Regions from separate parts of the Homo sapiens genome. Here regions 2 and 3 are each linked to region 1. The links are contacts of gene promoters, found by promoter capture Hi-C in blood cells and fetal thymus (Javierre and others, 2016). All regions are on one chromosome and are shown on one strand. Each heading gives the region's core, a stretch centred on a gene start or on the middle of the fragment in contact. The rest is flanking DNA. Distances are from core to core; before and after follow the strand shown. Region 1 holds the start of POLR3A (RNA polymerase III subunit A). Region 2 overlaps ZMIZ1-AS1 (ZMIZ1 antisense RNA 1). Region 3 overlaps LOC105378379 (a long non-coding RNA gene).

The links. Contacts are between HindIII fragments. The CHiCAGO score rates a contact against its expected background, and 5 or more counts as called.
Region 2: a fragment that was not itself captured here is called in contact with the fragment with the promoter of POLR3A in region 1 in 2 of 17 cell types (activated CD4 T cells and total CD4 T cells); the score reaches 7.0 in activated CD4 T cells.
Region 3: a contact is called between a fragment that was not itself captured here and the fragment with the promoter of POLR3A in region 1, in 1 of 17 cell types (M2 macrophages). The highest score is 7.0, in M2 macrophages.

Annotation. Positions count from the first base shown.
Region 1 is chr10:78,028,134-78,031,078 of GRCh38, forward strand. It overlaps POLR3A (RNA polymerase III subunit A), which reads right to left and starts at 1,382. Exons shown (of 31, transcript NM_007055.4): 1 at 1,231-1,382. The coding sequence starts at 1,274. RefSeq lists an enhancer at 1,302-1,551. The HindIII fragment of the contact is 13,008 bases long and covers 1-2,945 here.
Region 2 is chr10:78,969,343-78,972,287 of GRCh38, forward strand. All of the region lies in intron 5 of ZMIZ1-AS1 (ZMIZ1 antisense RNA 1), which reads right to left. Among named protein-coding and RNA genes, the nearest start is that of ZMIZ1-AS1, 97 kb to the right of the region's middle. RefSeq lists an enhancer at 2,818-2,945. The HindIII fragment of the contact is 3,571 bases long and covers 1-2,945 here.
Region 3 is chr10:78,661,146-78,664,090 of GRCh38, forward strand. All of the region lies in intron 2 of LOC105378379 (a long non-coding RNA gene), which reads right to left. Among named protein-coding and RNA genes, the nearest start is that of LINC00595, 400 kb to the left of the region's middle. The HindIII fragment of the contact is 3,792 bases long and covers 1-2,945 here.

The sequences.
Region 1 (2,945 bases), core at 132-2,631:
TCAAGAGATTTTCCAGAAGGAGAACTCTTATCAAGATACTCTCCTGTTGAAAATCCTTCAAAGGTTCCTCACTGCCTACAAGATGACTTCTTAACACAGCTTCAAGTCTTCTGCTTCCTTCTGATCACCTGTGTTCTCTCCCTCAGGTCTGCTCCTTGAAAAAAGCAGTTTGGTCTGCTTTCTTTTGCCTGGACCCATTATGTGCTCTCAAAACCCCCTGGACCTACCCTTGTCATTGCACTTGTCGTACCCAGTGTTGACTTGTGTACCTTCTCCAACTAGATTAGGCAGTAAAAGTTTTATTCAGACCGTATCTTTAACGTCCAACACTGGGAATAACGCGCAGTATCCTCCTCAGTGTCTGCTGTAAGAATGATGAATTCACTTTTTTTTTTGAGACACCGTCTCACTCTGTCACTCAGGGTGGAATGCAGGAGGTTGCCCACTGCAACCTCTGCCTCCCAGGCTCAAGTGATTTTTCGGCCTCAGCCTCCCGAGTAGCTGGGACCACAAGGGCGCGCCACCACGCCTGCTAATTTTTGTATTTTTGATAGAGACGGGGTTTCGCCACGTTGCCCAGGCTAGTCTCAAACTCCTGAGCTCAGGAGATTCACCCGCTTCGGCCTCCTAAAGTGCTGGGATTACAGGAGTAAGCCACCGCGCCCGGCTGGATTCACTTTCTTACCGAGAACTCTAAGAAGGAGCCACCGCCTAATAACGTATTTCTGAAGGCAAAAGTCCGGATAGCAGCTTTATTTCTGACACTGCCATCCGTCGGCCTGTGGTACAGCTTTCTAGTGGGCAACCCCATCCTTTTGGTAAGCAACTACTGCCTCCGTGTCAGACGCTCTGCGGCTGACAGAATTAGAGACAGTCCCCGCCCCAGATTGCTCCCCTCGCTGCAGCAGGGGATAGTTCGCTGAAGAACAGGGATCATTGTATGACTTCAGGAGAATGCGAGCTTTGGCCCAGGGTGCACAAATCATTAAGGCTCAGGCCACTCCGACTTCTCCGCCCAAGTCCAGGGACCTCTCGAGGTGCTGAAATCCCCTCAGCCTGACCAATGCTCTTTGACCAACGCTGGTAGTTCTGGGCGCTGGTCACACCTATGGACTACTGGCCCTCCCCTTCCCATTGCACCCCATCTCTGACCCTGCAAGACCCGGGACCGCTGACCTCGGACCCCTTGCCCTATTTCTCAGCCCTTTGGCCACTCTTACTCCGTCTTACATTTTCTTGGCCACATCCGTCTCCCGGAACTGCTCCTTCACCATGATGACCGCTGCCGGGACGCCTCCTTGGCACTCGGGAGGCCAGATTAGAGAAACGATGCCCCCAGCACCTCCTGGGGCTGCTTCTGGACTCGCCGCTAACACATCTGCGGCATCCTCTCGGCCACCGTAGAGTGTCCCACGTGTCCGCTTCCTCTTCCGCTACTCGCCCGCGCGTCTGTCTGTCAAGAGAGACTTCCGGCATGCCTTTTTTTTTTTTTTTTTTCCCTTTCCCCGCACCGTCACCTGGTGGCGCTTACTGGAAGCCGCACCGAGGCGTGTGCTGTATTTTAAAAATCCCATTTCTGGTCAATTTCTCCACGTAATCAGACACCCGCAGAGAAACTGCATATAACTCTTTGCCTCAAGGCTTTTAGACAAGCAGAGGGCCAAAACTTGCATAAAATGGAAAATCATCATCATTAACATCAGTACCATCTAAATTAAGAGCTTCTAATTGTTTTAAGGGAAGGTGGAAGCTAAAATGAACCGGCCCATCCAACAGAGGGCACTATCTGTGGAGGACCAACAAAGGAAAACAGAGCGGAAAATATGGGCGCACATGTGCCTCCAGTTCATGAAGTTATTTGGAGGGAGGGGGGAAGAATTAAACTTACATTATTGATTACAAAAACAGTTGAAAATCTGTTAGAGTGAAAACAGCCATGGTAATCTACAGAAGAAAAGGGAGAATGGAAAGTAAAGATCATTCATGTCTTGAAATAAGTTGTCTACAGTCTGTGAGAACTTGTGGGAGGTGATCCTAGTGTGATATATTAGTGCATGAGCCTAGCAAGGAAATCACATCACCACAGGGCTTAGCGCTTAGAATTAGAACTAAGTCCTCATTATTTGTGAGAAACTCAAAACAGAACTTAACAAAAGTGTTTAACAACTTTCAATTTTTAAGAAGGGACGCTATCTCATTTTCAGACGCCATGGATCCTCACTAGCAAAACACAATGTCACAGACAAACGAGGCATATCAGGTTTTTCTAACTCATTTCGGTACTCCATCACTTAATCATGAAATAATGTTGACTATATATATATATATATATATATATATATAGTCAACATTATGGGTTTTTTTTGTTTTTTTTTTTTTTTTTTTTTTGAGACGGAGTCTCGCTCTGTCGCCTAGACTGGAGTGCAGTGGCGAAATCTCGGCTCACCGCAACCTCCGCCTCCCGGGTTCAAGCGATTCTCCTGGCTCAGCCTCCCGAGTAGCTGGGACTACAAGCGCCCGCCACCACGCCCAGCTAATTTTTGTATTTTTAGTAGAGACGGGGTTTTACTATGTTGGCCAGGCTGGTCTCGAATCCCTGACCTCGTGATCCGCCCGCCTCAGTCTCCCAAAGTGATAGGATTACAGGTGTGAGCCACCACACCCGGCTCTGATGTTTACAATATTATACCAACAAGGGTTGGATCGTGTGTGACTTATCTAGAGGTTAAGAGCAAAAGTTATGAAATCACAGTGCCATCATGGGAGTCTAGCTTTCACCATTTAAAGTTGTGTAGGCAGCCAGGCGTGGTGGCTCACGCCTGTAATCCTAGCACTTTGGGAGGCCAAGGTGGGCGGATCACCTGAGGTCAGGAGTTCGGGACCAGCCTGGTCAACATGGTGAAACCCCATCTCTACTAAAAATACAAAAATTAGCTGGGGTTGGT
Region 2 (2,945 bases), core at 157-2,656, 940 kb after region 1:
CTCCTACCTCCACGCCTAGCTCAGGTGCCTGAAATCCCACCCTGGGTCCATGCCTCAGGTCTCTACTTAGTCAGTAAGCCAGATGAGGCCCACCTGATATTAAATTTAATCCCAGAAGTCAACTCCAATTCGTTGGCATCAGTTTCCTGTGTTGAGAAGGATTCTGATGCTATATGGGGGCTCAACGGGAAAGGGTCATGATTGATGAATGATGTTAAGCACAGTACAGGAAGGATGTGCCACTGGTTTGCTGTAACCAGCCAAGATTCTTTAGCCATTTTAGGAGATGCAAATGTGAGAAGTGTCAGCTCCCAGTCCCATGCCCTGCTCTGTGCTCAGCCTTGGGCTGGGCTCAGAGGAAAGTTAAGAGAAAGGAAAAGTCCTGCCCTTTGACTGACTGGGAAGTGGGGAACACCAGAAGCACTGGATTGAGTTTCCCATCTCTACGTGAGCGTAGGGCAAAATGGCCCTAAAGGTTCTGAGGTCCAGGGAGACAAAGTAAACTGCCAGGGTGCGGCGTGGCCTCTCAAACACACGTGGAGCCTCACGAACCCACTGAGTAACAACAGAGGCTCTGTGTGGCTGGCCCTGAGGTACAGGGCAGCAGGCAGAGCTGAGGTCAGAGCGCGCACACACAGGTCAGAAGGTCAAGATGCTCCCTGTGCTTGGTGAACGCAAGCTGGGCTTTGAAGCGGGGTGAGATCTCTAGAGATCTGGATCTCATTTGCTTCCCAATCCCACCCCTCATAGGATGGGAACCTTAGAGAGGCTTCTTTGACCACCCAGACTAAAAGAGGTCCTCATATAACCCGTTATTCTCCATCTCAGCATCCTGATGTGTTATCACAACGTGCAATTCCTTTTTTCACCTACTAGTTCGATTTGTTTTGTCTGTCTGTCCCAATAGTCTGGGAGCCTCAGGAGGGTAGGGATTAGGTCTGTCTTATTCACTGTCTTCATATCCTAACACAGTGCAGCAATAGAACTGGTTCAAATCATGGTTGTTCAATTAATTAATAAACTGTAGCTGGCCGGGGTCACACACTCAAAACACCTGCAGGGTCAAGCAGACAAAGTCAACGAGTGAGGTGGACATGTGAAGGAACAAGTGCACAGAGTGGCCACGTGGCATATCCTCAGGCCATGCTCAGGGCAGGCCTCCCTGTGCTCCTGAAGTTGTGTTTATCTGACATATATGCAAATCGTTTGCAAGTAACCACAAGGGAATATCTTTTCTGTCTCCAAAGAAATATATATTTTTGGCGGGGCACGGTGGCTCACGCCTGTTATCCCAGCACTTCGGGAGGCCGAGGCGGGCAGATCATCTGATATCAGGAGTTTGAGACCAACCTGGCCAACATGCTGAAACCCCATCTCTACTAAAAATACGAAAATTAGCCAGGCATGGTGGTGCACGTCTGTAATCATAGCTACTCAGGAGGCTGAGGCAGGAGAATCACTTGAACCCGGGAGGCAGAGGTTGCAGTGAGCCAGGATCACACCACTGCACTCCAGCCTGGGCAACAGAGTAAGACTCCGGTCTCAAAAAAAAAAAAAAAAAGAAAGAAATATATACTTCTCCATTTTGCTAGAACAAATGATATTCTCGGTCCTTTTAAATTTTCCTACTTTTGCTAGAGTTGGGTGTACAGAGAAATATTTCCCTACTATACAGAAAAGTAACAGGCCAAGTGAGATGACCAGTCAGCCTCAGCATCAGGCGGCCCAGTAGGTCTCAAAATGGGGCCCTAAACCAGCAGCAGCAGTATCACCCGAGAACTTGTCAGAAATTCTCAGGCAAATTCTCAGGCCCACCCCAAACCCACTGAAGCAGAGACTCTGGGGTGGGGTCCACTAATCTGTATTTTAACAAGCCCTCCAAGGGATTTTCCCATATGCTCAAGTTTGAGAACCAGTGCAATAGGGAGCAGTGGAGACTGTGGTAAACTGGAGAACATACACCCGGCCTGTAGGGGCCTCTGCTGCTCAGCTCCAGCCCACAGTTGCCGCATAAAAACGTGAGCCCAGTGTGGCCAAACTCCCCAGTTATTTGAGGGAAATTGAAAATTCACACTTTCATGTGAAATGCCTTCATTTGTAAATAATGGTTTTTTTTTTTTTAATCTCACGTAGGCCAAACAAAATTTGTCTGCAAGCCTGGGCAACATAGTGAGACCCCATCTCCACAAAAAAAAAAAAAAGAAAAATTAGCTGGGCATTGTGGCACATGCCTATAGTCCCAGTTGCTTGGGAGGCTGAGGTGGGAGGTTCTCTTGAGCCCAGGAGGTCAAGGTTGCAGTGAACTGAGATTGCATCCCTGCACTCCATCAAGACTCTGTCTCAAAAAAAAAAAATTGTCCTCAAATGGAGACCAGCCCAGGTACAGCCAGAGTATGACCTGAGGGGTGGAGGCTTCTCCCCACAAGGAAAGATCCAGAAAGATGCTGTCACAGCTGTCCTTCCTAGACCAGCTTACCTCTAATGGACAGCCCAGACCCCATGCTTCCCTGGGACTCAGAGACCCCTATGTACCGTGTAGGACTGCTTCTGAGTTTTCAAATCCCAGCCAAGGTCCACAGGATCCAGCACTTCCCTGGGTCATGGACCAACAGGCTTGGACAGGCAAAATTCTGGGCCTTGAGATCAGGGTTCAAGGCAGGGCTGGGGGTAGACAGAGAGTACACTGTCCTTTCCTGAGCCCCTATTCCATGACAAGTACATTCCATGACATATACTCAGGGCTCATAGGCATTCTCTCTTTAACTTTTGCAACCTCTCCATGGAGTAAGGGTCACTATGCACATTTTAAAGTAGAGGAAAAAGGGGTTCAAAGAGGTTATGTGACTTTCCCCAGGTCATAAAGCTAGCAGATGAAGGAGCCAGGCTGTGACCCCACATGCACCTGCCTCCCAGCCTATGTAGATCCTAATCTTCCCAACTACCTG
Region 3 (2,945 bases), core at 157-2,656, 630 kb after region 1:
CAGCCCTTTTAAGGAATTTCCCCACTCCTTTCCATTCTAAGCTGGAAACACCCAAATCTATACACAATAGAGTCTCACTGGACATGTCATTTATGGAAGTTGTTCCCTTGACTTGACTTAGTTAATTCCAGTGCATCCTTTATATCACAGCTTATATGTCACTTCCTCCTGGACTGGTTCCCTGCCTGCAGACTAGATTTAGTCTGCTTTTTCTGCTTCTAGGACAGCCTGGGATAGTCTGTGAGAGCAGTCATTAGGGCTGATAATTATATAGCCCTAAGAGTTTCTTTATAAATGTCTGATTCTCTCACTAGACTGTCAATCTCATGAGGACAAGGGCCATGCCTATTTGTTCATACTGCTTCCCAAATACTTAGCATGGACTGGCTAAATAGGCACTAACTAAATATTTGTTGGATGAGTGAATGAATGAACAAATTTCCATGTGAAGAAACAGGCTTCATCTGCCTGGACCCTACATCAATCTTTTGTACTCCTGTGCTACCAACTGTGATTTTGCTCTTCTATTTAAACTCTATTTCACCCGTCAAGTTTGATACATGATCTTATGTCTCTCAATGCCTGGCCTTGCCTCCCTCTCTTGCCACCTCTTTGGATACATCACTCACAAGCCGCTAGGCAACGCCCACCCATCATAACCCTTCTTCTACCCCACTGGGCTGACCCCAATCAGATTTCCTGCCCATAGGAAGACCACCAGAGGGGTTTGTGATTTGTTACCTACAAATAAAATCATTGACCTTCCAATATCAAAGCTACCTTAAAGGTCACTTGTTCAATTTCACCTTTTGTCTGATGAAGAGAGCGGGAATCAGACAAGATAGGTGAATTGTCCTTGGACAGAGAGCAGGAGGAAAAAGGAGTCCCTGGGATCCATTCCATGTCAGCATTCATTTCAAAACGGTGTCTGCTTGTTCATTTTTTAAAGTAAAAATTTAAATTGGTACATGCATGACATTCAAGAAGCATAAAAGGATTCTAAAATGCTATACAAAGAGTGCTCATTACACTGTATGTTTATACTGTCACTTACTCCCATTTTACTGATGAGGAAACTGAGCCTTATAATTACTAAATAGTGCCTCTAGGACTTGAACTCAAGCCTGCCTCTTCAGAGTCCTTTACTTTACTGAACCCTAAACACATGTAATTGGTTCAAGCTAAAGTGGCCTTCTATAAGCTCTAGACCCTGAGCTACTTAGAAACAAGATCACAGCCTGGCGCGGTGGCTCACGTCTGTAATCCCAGCACTTTGGGAGGCCAAGGCAAGTGGATCACCTGAGGTCAGGAGTTCAAGACCAGCCTAGCCAACTTCGTGAAGCCTTGTCTCTACTAAATATACAAAATTTAGCCAGGCATGGTGGCAGGTGCTGTAATCCCAGCTGCTCAGGAGGGTGAGGCAGGAGAATCACTTAAACCCAGGAGGCAGAGGTTGCAGTGAGCCGAGATTGTGCCACTGTACTTCAGCCTGGGTGACAGGAGTGAAGCTCCATCAAAGAAATAAAGAAACAAACAAACAAACAAACAAACAAACAAGACCACATACACCTTATTTATCTTTGGCAACACCAGTTCCTAGTTCAATATATTGTCACATAATAGGTCCTAAATAAACATTTAAAGGATGAATAAATTAATGAGGAAATTCACAATAATTAAAAGTTTGAAGCAACAGTTAGCATAGCATGATTTTCATGAACGATGGGCAGGGCAAAGAAGACAAGGCTATACATTTATCTCAAAAACTCATAGTGGCTAGAGAGAAACATTTGCCTCCTTAAGCTGAATGAACTTGTAGAGAATAATTTTTTTTGCTGCAAATGCTTAGGATATAAAAATCTGTATATATCTTGTTGAAACAGCCTAGATATGAGCATAATTGCAGTGATGTGTTACTCTCCAAATTAGAAACTAGAAATGGTGGTGGAAGGAAGGTAGGAATCATGGAGGGACACATGTCCTCTTCTTACCATTAAAGTTGATATAACCATTAAACTCTATATAATCATTACACACACGTGTATGTATGGTGTGTATGTACAGTATTAACCAACTGCTTTGAGAAAATTGTATGAAAGGTTAGACTGTTGAGAATCTGCATGCATGAATTTGAATATATGGGAGGAAGTGTGATTTTAATGCTTTTGGATATATATCTTAACCCTGCCTTGGAGGTTTTCAAGAAGTAGTTTCAATAAATGTAATTTGCCTTGTAATTAACACATTGAATGCTTCTAAAGTGCCCTCTTTGTCTTTTTTTTAATAGTTTTAAGCCATCCTTTGTCTTGACATTTGTCACTTGCTGAAATAATCCCTCTTTTCCATTTATACCACAAAGGTGAACCTCACCCAAGCCCCAGCATGGTGAAACTCAGAAATTCCAGGAGGAGAGGGTATTTAAAGTGAAGTCATGTGATATGTAGAATTGTGGCCCCTGCCCCACAGGACTTTGAAGACTATAAATGTTAAAGTATGATATACGTCAGTTAGCACCTTGTTTGGCATGCAGTCCTTGCTCAAAACCCAGCAACTATGTATTGAAGCTGAGTGGGGTGGGGGGTGAACCAGGCTGAAAGTGGGGAAGACAAGGCAGAAGAATGGGCTGTAGACCAGATAATGTTCATTTTCCCCAGGGCTCCTAGGATTGTTTTGGTAATTACTCCAGCTTCTTCAACAGCTTGTGATTTGTCCAGTGCCAGGGAACCTGAATTTGCATTGCACAATGCATAATTCATACGGCATGGAGAGCAATTATGAGCTAATTGAGGGTTGTAATGTTTAAAGACAGGACTCATTATCAGGAACATAAGGGATGTTGGGAGGGGAGAAGCTCTGGAGTCCATGGAGGCTCGTTCCCTCTAATTCCGCTTTCCTTAAGATGACTGTAATTGTCTCTTGAAGGGCACTGAAGTTCTCTCCTAGAA